2 separate regions of the Homo sapiens genome follow, and region 1 is linked to region 2. Evidence: promoter capture Hi-C in 16 types of primary human blood cells and fetal thymus (Javierre and others, 2016). All regions are on one chromosome and are shown on one strand. The core of a region is centred on a gene start or on the middle of the fragment in contact, and the rest is flanking DNA. Distances in the headings are between cores, read along the strand shown.

Region 1 (4,716 bases), core at 1,345-3,844, 2.2 Mb after region 2:
ACTTCAATATCTACTACTCTATCTCTGCTCTGGAAAGAATCATCTATACTGGCTTTCTCTATTTTCTCACTTCCAATTCTTTTCTCAGCTCTCCACAATATGCTTTCTGGCCTCACTACTCAATTTAAACTGCCCTGGGAAGGGTCAACAGTGGCTGCTGGATTATTAAATCCAGTGGAACCAGAGGTCACAAACTGGGGTCTGTGGGCATGCTCTTGTCCATGGATGGATTTCTCTTGGGCTTCATAGTGCTTTCAAATTTTTGAGTTGATTTCAACATTCAAAAATTGGGAAAGTCCATATAAAAATGCAGAATTCCAGCATCTCTTTAAAAATTGGAAGCTCTAACAATACTGGCCCCACCTTCTTGCATGGAAACAGCCTCTTGAGTAGACTAGTAGCTACCTCCCAAAGAGGATACCTGCTCTCCAGGGCCCCTTAGGCCCCACTTGGGTTTGGCCTTAGATATTTGATCACATTGGCTTTTGGCTTATGGATATTTGAGTTTTAGGCCTTCACGTTTATTAAAGTTAACTTGTGTCATTATCATCAAGGTTAAGACTAAAATTGTGTCTTCGTTAGTGTTCCTCCAAAAGCTGACACTGAGACTAGGATTGGGTGCAAGTAGTTTATCTGAAAAGTGATTCCTAAAAGCTTGGTGAGAGAGAAGGGAAGTGAGTCAGAGAAGAATGAAAGCCAATACAAGGTGAATTAATGAGCTGGAGGCTAGGGCAGTCACCTGGGGCTCCCTCCTGGGGGACCTTCTGAGAGACATTCTGAGAGAAGAAGTGGAACCAATAGTTGAGGAAGCTGGGGTGTTTGTCCACCAGCTCCTGTCCCTCATTGGAACCACTCCTGGAGCATTAACTCCCTGGCACTTCCGGGCAGTCCTGCTGACTTGCCGCACATGCCCACAGCCAGAGAATGGCCTGTCAGAGACATGCAGATGTGTAGGGTAGGAAGCTGTGGGCCTGTGGGAACTGTAGGTGACTGCCAGGTGCACAGTAGGCAGGGCCCTGACAATGTCTACAGAAAGCTGATTTCATCTCATTTCCCCATCATGCCTGGCACGGAGTTAGCACTTCATAAATGTGAGTGGTTGGAAGTTCTTGGTTTTCTTATGCTTCCCCTGATTACTTCTTATCGGAAATGAGATGAAGTTAAATGGGTAATTGTATAATCCTAGTTTGTTTGAGTCTCCCTGTGTAGTTGGGGCGGGGAGGGGAGGGGAGGAATTACTGAAATCATCCATTCTTTGCCTATAGGCAGATCACAGCTTTCCTTGAGAGCACTCTTGTTGGTTCCCTGAGTACAGTGTTGGATTTAATAGTCAGGAAAGTCTATTTTTACTTGGTGATGCCTCTGGGTGTTCTTCTGCAAGGTTCTGGCCTGGGTCCAAGTTGCTGTGGCACTGATTCCCAGCAGCATGTGGCCACAAGGATAAGGCATGAGTGAATTAAAGTTTAATTAAAGGTGAAACTCCAATATGGATGGAGCTGGCTGTCTCCTGCTGGGTAATTAGTGAGGCGAGGGTTTGAAAGGGCAGCACAAAGATCCCCGCTGATGTCAGACGCTCCTCCTAGGTATGTCCTCTTGGGCAGTTTTGTGGAACACCTTTTTTCCTCCCTGGCAGTAGAATAGAAAGATGTTGTAAACTAGTAGTAGAAACAAAGAACACCAATGTGGGTGGCCTGGGGTAGCAAATGCGAGTGGCTTCTCATAGGTTCATCATCAAATCGGTTACCATGACTTGCAGGCTCCTCCTCCTGAGCCCTTCAAGCAGCCATCTGGGAAAGACCAGGTGGAAAGGCGTTCTTGGGGACAGACCTAACTTTCATGGGTGTCAATGAGCGCTTTGTCCCGTGGTCTCCCTATTCTGGTGTACGTGTGAAGTGGAGGAGGGTCAATTTCTCAGCTTCTGTCCCCTTCAGGGGGTGTACTCAGAGCTGCGTGTTAGACTTCCCTGACCATTTTATCCAGAGCAGAACCAGGCTCCAAGGACCCCAGGAAATGGAGTGCGCGGACCTTCACAGTAATATCAGCAGTGCTAACAATAACTATACCGACGAAGTTCAGCAAGCACTCACTGTGCAGAGTGCAAGCTCAGGCAGTCATGCATCATCACACTCACTCATTCACTCCTCCCCGCAACACCGCAGCTCTGCCGGCACTTGCATCTTCCTTTTCACTCTCCAGGCCTAGTGCTCTCACAAGGCCAGCTGAAACAAATCTCTGGCGTGCTCATTGCTCTGCTCTCCTCAGGGTCCCTCATGATCCCTCCTTTCAGACAGCTGCAGCTCCTACCACCAACGGCTGGATTATTTTCTTATTTCCCATCTCAAATTTCTGAAAGCAAGAACATCCCAGTCTGCTGGGACCTGAGACTTATGCAGTTTTAGAGACCCCCTTTAAGAAAGGAATAAAAGCATATGAATGAATGCAATACTAGGCTCAGGGGCAAGGAGGAGGCCTGGACAGGCGAGGCACCAGAAAGTCCCAGTGTGTTTGTTTCAGGGTGAGTCGGCCTCTGCTAGAGTCTAATAATACGTTTTTATTCTGGTGGTTGGGGTGGAGTGGGGTGACAAGCCATGGTACCAAACCCAGTTATTAAAAGCTGGTGCATTTGAGCATGGTCCCTGTCTCTGATGTTCTCCTCTCAACCACGCAAGGAGGCCCGGTCTTCCAGAGTGGACTCAGCCACCTCACCATTTCATGTGTATTCATCCAGAAACTGGGCTTGGGAGAAACTTCCCTGGGGCCTTGGGCTAAGAAGCACGCACTCCATGGAGTTCTGCAGGCAAAGGTGCAGACATGAGGTAGGGAATCGTCAGTGGTCATTTGGTGTCCCATACATTCCTTGTTCCTTGTGTGTACAGCTCCCTTAAAGATGTTATGGAGATAAGGGATGGCTGGACCCAGCCAAGTTGGGGGCATTTGTAGGGTTCATGGACCCAGGCCAAATTGTTATCTTAAAACTACTGAAATCTTTCCATGGTTCCTAACACCCATCTCTGATTATTTCCCTAGCATAGGTGCCTGAATGTGAAAAGATATGAACATTTTAAGGAGCTTGACATAAAATTTCATTTGCATGAAATTCATTCAAATTCATTCAAATGTCATTTCAGAAAGTCATACCAATTCACATTTTCTCCAAAGAGATGTGCGTTTCCACTGTACAGTGGCTTCACCAACAATGGATGCCACCATTTAAAATAATTTTATTTATTGTTTTTCTCTATCTACAAAAGTAATAATGATGTTCTTTATAAAAGTTTTAATGTTGACAGAAATATACAACTGAGAAAATGAAAGCCCTCCCATTCCTCCTATTCCCTTGGGTAACAAATGCAGAGTGGCTTCTCCTAGGTTCATCATCAAATCGGGCACCATAACTTCCAGGCTCCTCCTCCTGGGTCCCTTAAGCAGCCATTTGGGAAAGACCAGGTGCAAAAAGGTTCTTGGGCATAGACCTGACTTTCATGGGTGTCAATGAGCGTTTTGCTCCCAACTATCCAGAGATAACCCCCATAAACCGTTAGATGAATATTTATTTATGCAGATATCTTCTGCGTTTATGTTATGATGGAATTTTGGGGCTTTGTTTTTTAACCAAAATGATGTCACACCAGATATACTTCTTCAAAACTAGCGTTTTTAGTGTTCCATATGGATTTCTTCTGGGCCCTCTTTATACATTCCTAAAGAAACTCATTCATTCATGGCTTTAAAAATATTCTATGGGCTGATACCTCCTGAATTTATGTCTTCTCTGAGCTCCAGACTTACAAATCCAACTAGTTGCTTGACATCTCTGATTGGATGTCTCTTAGGCATTTAAAACTTAACATGTTCAGGGTAGGTGTGATGTCTCACACCTGTAATCCCAGCACTTTGGGAGGTTGAGGTGGGAGGAACATTTGAGCCCAGGATTTTAAGACCAGTTGGGCAACATAGTGAGACCCTGTCTCTATTAAAAAAAAAAAAATTCAACATGTTCAAAATGGAATTCTTGTTTCCACTCCTCAATCCTGTCTTTCTACCCCAGCCTCCCTCATTTTAATAATGTCACTCCCAGCCACCCAATTTCCAAAGATAAAATCCTGGAAGTCATCTTTTCCTTGCCACTTATGGCCAACACAACAGCAAGTCCTGTTAATTCTATCTCCAAGCGAGTCTCTTGTCCACCCACTTCTCTGCCTCTTTACCACCATCATTCCACGTGTAGTAGCCTCTCATTGGCCTTTTCGCCTCTGCTCTTGCTTTCTGTACGTTCCTCTCTCTGACTAACAGCCATAATCAGCTTCTTAGAATAAATCCAATTGTTCTGCTCCCATGCTTGGAACTCATCAATGCCCTCAGATAGCATTCATGCATCTTGCCATGGTCTGTGAGGCCCTGTCTAATTGGCTTGCTTCTCAGCTTCACTCCTCTCATGCCAACCTATGTCCCCATCCTGTGCTCCAATCACTCAGGTCCACTGCTTTCTCACGGGAAGACTTTGCGTTTGCCAAGCCCTCCTTCTGAAGCTTGCCACCTCCCACTCTTTGCCTGCCTAAATCCTTTTCAGTTCTCATTGATTTAACCATTCTCCTGTTGTTTCAAAATTTTCAGTGTTATAAACAATAGTGCATTGAACATCTGAATGCATTCAATTTTGTCCCACGGCTTGATTGTTTACTTGTCATAAATTCCCAGAAGTGAATTGCTAGAGGG
Region 2 (4,406 bases), core at 173-2,672:
CTGGTTCAGGCCTCCCAGCCACCTGACCTCATAGCTGATCCAGGCAGTGTGAACCCATTGCTCCCTGGCTAGGAGAGGTGGGGTGTGGATAGGGAGGGTCTCTGACTCTGTCTCTCCTGCCTTAGCAGTCAGTCCAAGGAAGTCTAGCCCAAGGCCTGAGGTCCCACAGCAAGCTGGGGGCAGAGGAGCTGGCCTTGCCCCTCCCACTCCTTCCTGGACCTGGTTCTCAGCCATGCCAAGATCCTGAGCAATGCCCACCCCTCTTCGGCTGCAAAACTATCCCACACACCGGAGGCTAACAGATGGAGGCTTTCTTTAAATCAAAGGCTTATGGGGAGGTGTAGAGTGGGAGCTGACAGCTTCTCCTTGAGGAGCTTCATCTCCAACTGCCCCCACCCCTTTTGCCTGCTGACAACTGTTTCCTTTCTGTCTCACCACACAGACCTGGCCCTGACCATGGCCAGCTCTGTTTGCCTCAGATTCAGGCCCTTTTGAACCATTGTAAGTTGGGGGAAATAAGGTCCCATCGGCAAAGGAGAGGATAAGGGTGCACAGGCCCGATGTGCTGCCCCTCAGCAGACTGCAGATGCCCCCCCCGTCCCCCCCAGCCTTTCCTTCTCAGACAGGAAGGGAAGCTCCGCCTACACACCTGGCAGGAGAGAATGCAGTCACACCAGGAATGTGAGTCTTAGTCTCATCAGGGAGAATCACAGGATTCCAGAATAGAATCCTAAATCCAGCAGTCTGTGACATTCTAGCCAGGAATCTTAGAACCACAGCACAGACTCTCCAAAGAGAAGCCAGGCCAAGAAGAATCCCAGGACTGGAAGGCCTTGTGGGACGTCCCAGGTTTGTCTTGTGTCAATAGCACTGATACTCAATCTCCTACTCCCATCTGTGAGCATGCAGACCCTACTTGCCTTCCCACAGCCTCCCTTTTCATATTTTTCATGTTTCTTTAGCTCTGTCTTCAAGCCTTGTTGCTCCCGCAAAAAAACCTGCCTCTTCCTCCAGTCCTCCCAAGCAGGGGGAACAGTCCTGACACCTTTCCAAGCCCTGGTCCATGGACATTGTGCCCCCTTCTCCCTGCCCATGGTGACCTGCTCCAAAACCCTCAAGGAGAAGGGAGTGTATGTCATTTCCTCCCTGTAAAGTAAAGATAATTTTGCAGGGGACTGTGTGGATGAAATGACATGATGCATGGAAATCCCTTAGCGTGTGCCTGGCATGTAAACTGCAGGTGTCATCATTATTACTGAGGAATACTGAGTCCCGAACATGGCTGTCTCATTGGTGGACTGGGGTCTCCCCCAGGGCATTCATCTACTATGTGTTTATTGCACCCTTTTTCCATGTGAGGCACATGCCAGGGACTGGGCACATGGTATGAACAAGACACAGGTCATCGGTGTCCTCTTGAGCTCCCTGGCTTGGCAGCAGATGCATACCTGGGAAGGATGCTAGGTGAGTGTGGGCAGGAGAAGCATGCAGGGCTCTGAGTGCAGCCTGGTGAGGGTGGGGCTGGAGCAGGGGATGGTGGTGGGCTGAGCCAGGCCATGGTGGAGGTGGGAAAGAACAATGTGGCTCTTTGGTGACTCTGGATGTTTGGGGTGGGAGGACTTCAAGGAGATGTGGGATGATTTGAGGACTGGGGATGGAGGTACTGGGGGCTGAGGCACTAGGCCCACACTCACGAGTATGGACTGCTGTCACTCTTCCTGATATCTGGGGGCCGCAGTTTCTGAAGCAGGATTCGGATGATGCAAATAAACAGGATGAAGTTTACCTAGTGGGTGGGGACCCGAGTTCGGGCAGTCAGAGCGGGAAGGCTGAGGTGTTCAGGCCCCTTGACTGCTGGCCTGTCTTCTTTCCCAGGGTCCTGCTGCCCCTCTCTCTATCTTACCTCTCCTCTGGCATTTCCCCTTTGGGCAGGTCATCCGGGAACTCTACCTCCTTCAAATCCCTAAGGACTGTGCTCCCAATCCGCTTACGCTCAAGGAAGAACTGGTAGGACAGGGGTGGGGATGATCCTGCATTGGGCATTAGGAAGCTACGTTTCAGTTCTGACCTAGATACTAATTTCCCATGTGACCTTGGGCTAAGTTGCCTGCCCTTTGGGCCTGTTTCCCCATCTCTAGGTGGTGGGAGGGTATCTTACCAAGATGGAGGTGAGGATGGGGCCCTTTATGATCCACCACAGTGAGGAGTTGATGGTGTCCCAGCACCTGAGCAGACCGTGGGGAGGAATGAGAGGGATTGTCCTCAGCCAGAGAGAGACTCAGCAGCACCTCCCCCAGTTGTCCCCAGCTCTGCTCCTGAGCACTTTAGCAACCCCGGGCCCAGAGTCTGTTGCTCCCCAGGTCCTCCTCCAGCCTCCCCTCTGGCCCGAGAGCTGTGGTTTTTGTCCACTCACCAAGGCCAGATGGCATTATCATCCCACCCAGGGGGCCTGCCCAAGTGATGGCGGCCGGGGGAGTGTGTGGGGCAGCAGCTCACCCATAATCCTCAAAATGGATCCTGGCGATGGTCCACACCATGGTGAATGTGCTGGGTACCCCTGTCAGGCCCAGGGAGAGTGAAAGAGCAGAGAGGGCACAGGAAGCAGGGGTAGAGGGCATGAGGGAGAGATTTTGGAGAAAAGCAGGGAGAGGGAGGGAGAGAGAAAAGGGTGGGTTGTCAGTCTGCTGTCTTTGGTTGCATAGGTTGTTCACCACGGAGGGATGCTCCACTGAGGGGGTGAAGCTGTATGCCTGAAGGGCTGTGTCTACCTAGACGGACATTCTCTTTCTAATTGTGACAGAGGCCCTTTATAGATTAGCAGTGGCCCTGTGTATTTCGGGAACTAAAGGGAAATGGAAAGATGTTCACAAAATCTGTCCCACAGGTCAGCCCTAGGTGCAGCTGCAACCTGAGGGACTTGTCCTGGGATCAGACATTTTGAGGACTTTCTTGACCCTTGGCTGATATCCTTGCAGGCAGGACCTGCAGCTAAGCAAGACGTAGGACTGCAAGCTGGGTTGGCACCCTCCCCCTAGGGAGTTCTCCAGGCCTTGCCCCCTCTGTCCCCAGCCTGGAAGCCCTCCCTGGTACCATACCCCAGCCGATGAGTATGTACCCCCAGAAGTACTTCCGCTCAGAGAAGAAGGAGACGGCAAGCAGGGTGTACAGGTAGAGGCCCTCCACCAGCAGCCAGAAGAAGTTAGCCATGACACAATATTGGAAAAAGACCATGGCTGCCTTACAGCCCACCTGCAGGGGGAGGAGAAAAGACGGGGTTCACTGGGGCTGTCAAGGGTCCTTGACTGCCCACACTCGTGTCTGGGGGGACAAACACAGTTGCAGTGCAGCCAACTTAATCTCTTTGTTGTTTTGCATTATCCCCTTAAAAATGTACTCATTGGTTTTCCCATTTTCCCTAATTTTAGATCCTCTGATACTTCGGGATAAACTGGTGATTTTAATTATCCATCCATCAATTCATCTATTCACCTTCCCATCTATATATCTACCCATCTGCCCATTCAATCATCTACCCACCTATCCATGTATCCATTTATTTACCCACTCACCCACTAGACATTCACTATCAACTCACTCATTTATCCATTTTTTATCCATGTGTCCATCCATCATCTATCATCTTCCCATCTATCAATCCATCCACCCACACACCTATCTCTCCATTCTTCTACCAACCCACTCAGTCATCTACCCATCCATTCATCTCTGCACCCACCCATCAATCCACTTGTGCATCCACCCACATATCTACCTACCTGCCCCTCTGCCTATCATCTGTCCAATCTTCCTTACTTAACCCATTTATCCTGCTGCCTACTTAGCCATCCACCAACCTGCCCATCCACACTCCCACCCCACCCACTCATTCATCTAATGCCAATTTGTATTGAAGGTAGCTGGAAGGTATGAGGGAGAATTCTTGCTTGAGTTTCAAGAGTCTGCTCAATGTGGGGGAGTGGAGGGCTGTGGACTGTGGAGTGGGGCCCAGATGGAAGTGTGGAGGGAGACTGGGACTGAGAAGAGGGTGGAAGAGGGGGAAGTAGAAATGAAGAAGAAGAGAAGAGGGGAGGGGTGGCCATTCCTCCTGGGGTTCAGAGGACCGAGTGGAAGAATGGGTTTCTTAGGCAGACGAGGACCATGAAGGAGTTAGGGAGACCCATGAGTAGAGCAATCACAGGGCTCTGGGTGGCCCACTTGGCATGACTGGAAGGTATTCTGGGCCTTCTGTCCCCTCCCAGAAAGTCCCCCATTTCAGATCAAGCCTAGATGTCTGTCAGCCAGGGCTTAAAGCCACCCTCCACCAGGAAACTGTCTGGCTTCCACTTCCCCCTGTACCCAAAACATTGGTTCCCACCCTTCCTTCCTGTACCCTTGGTTTGCGACAT

Evidence for each region. The method cuts DNA at HindIII sites, captures the fragments that hold promoters and counts their contacts. A CHiCAGO score of 5 or more calls a contact.
Region 1: a contact is called between a fragment that was not itself captured here and the fragment with the promoter of VIPR1-AS1 in region 2, in 1 of 17 cell types (total B cells). The highest score is 6.0, in total B cells.

The regions. Positions count from the first base shown.
Region 1 is chr3:40,330,295-40,335,010 of GRCh38, reverse strand. No RefSeq gene overlaps it. Among named protein-coding and RNA genes, the nearest start is that of EIF1B, 23 kb to the right of the region's middle. The HindIII fragment of the contact is 3,875 bases long and covers 657-4,531 here.
Region 2 is chr3:42,529,622-42,534,027 of GRCh38, reverse strand. VIPR1-AS1 (VIPR1 antisense RNA 1) reads left to right here and starts at 1,422. Exons shown (of 3, transcript NR_046654.1): 1 at 1,422-1,464; 2 at 1,933-2,007; 3 at 3,070-3,132. It overlaps VIPR1 (vasoactive intestinal peptide receptor 1), which reads right to left. Exons shown (of 13, transcript NM_004624.4): 7 at 3,096-3,249; 8 at 2,497-2,557; 9 at 2,159-2,225; 10 at 1,695-1,786. RefSeq lists an enhancer at 148-649. The HindIII fragment of the contact is 10,773 bases long and covers 1-4,406 here.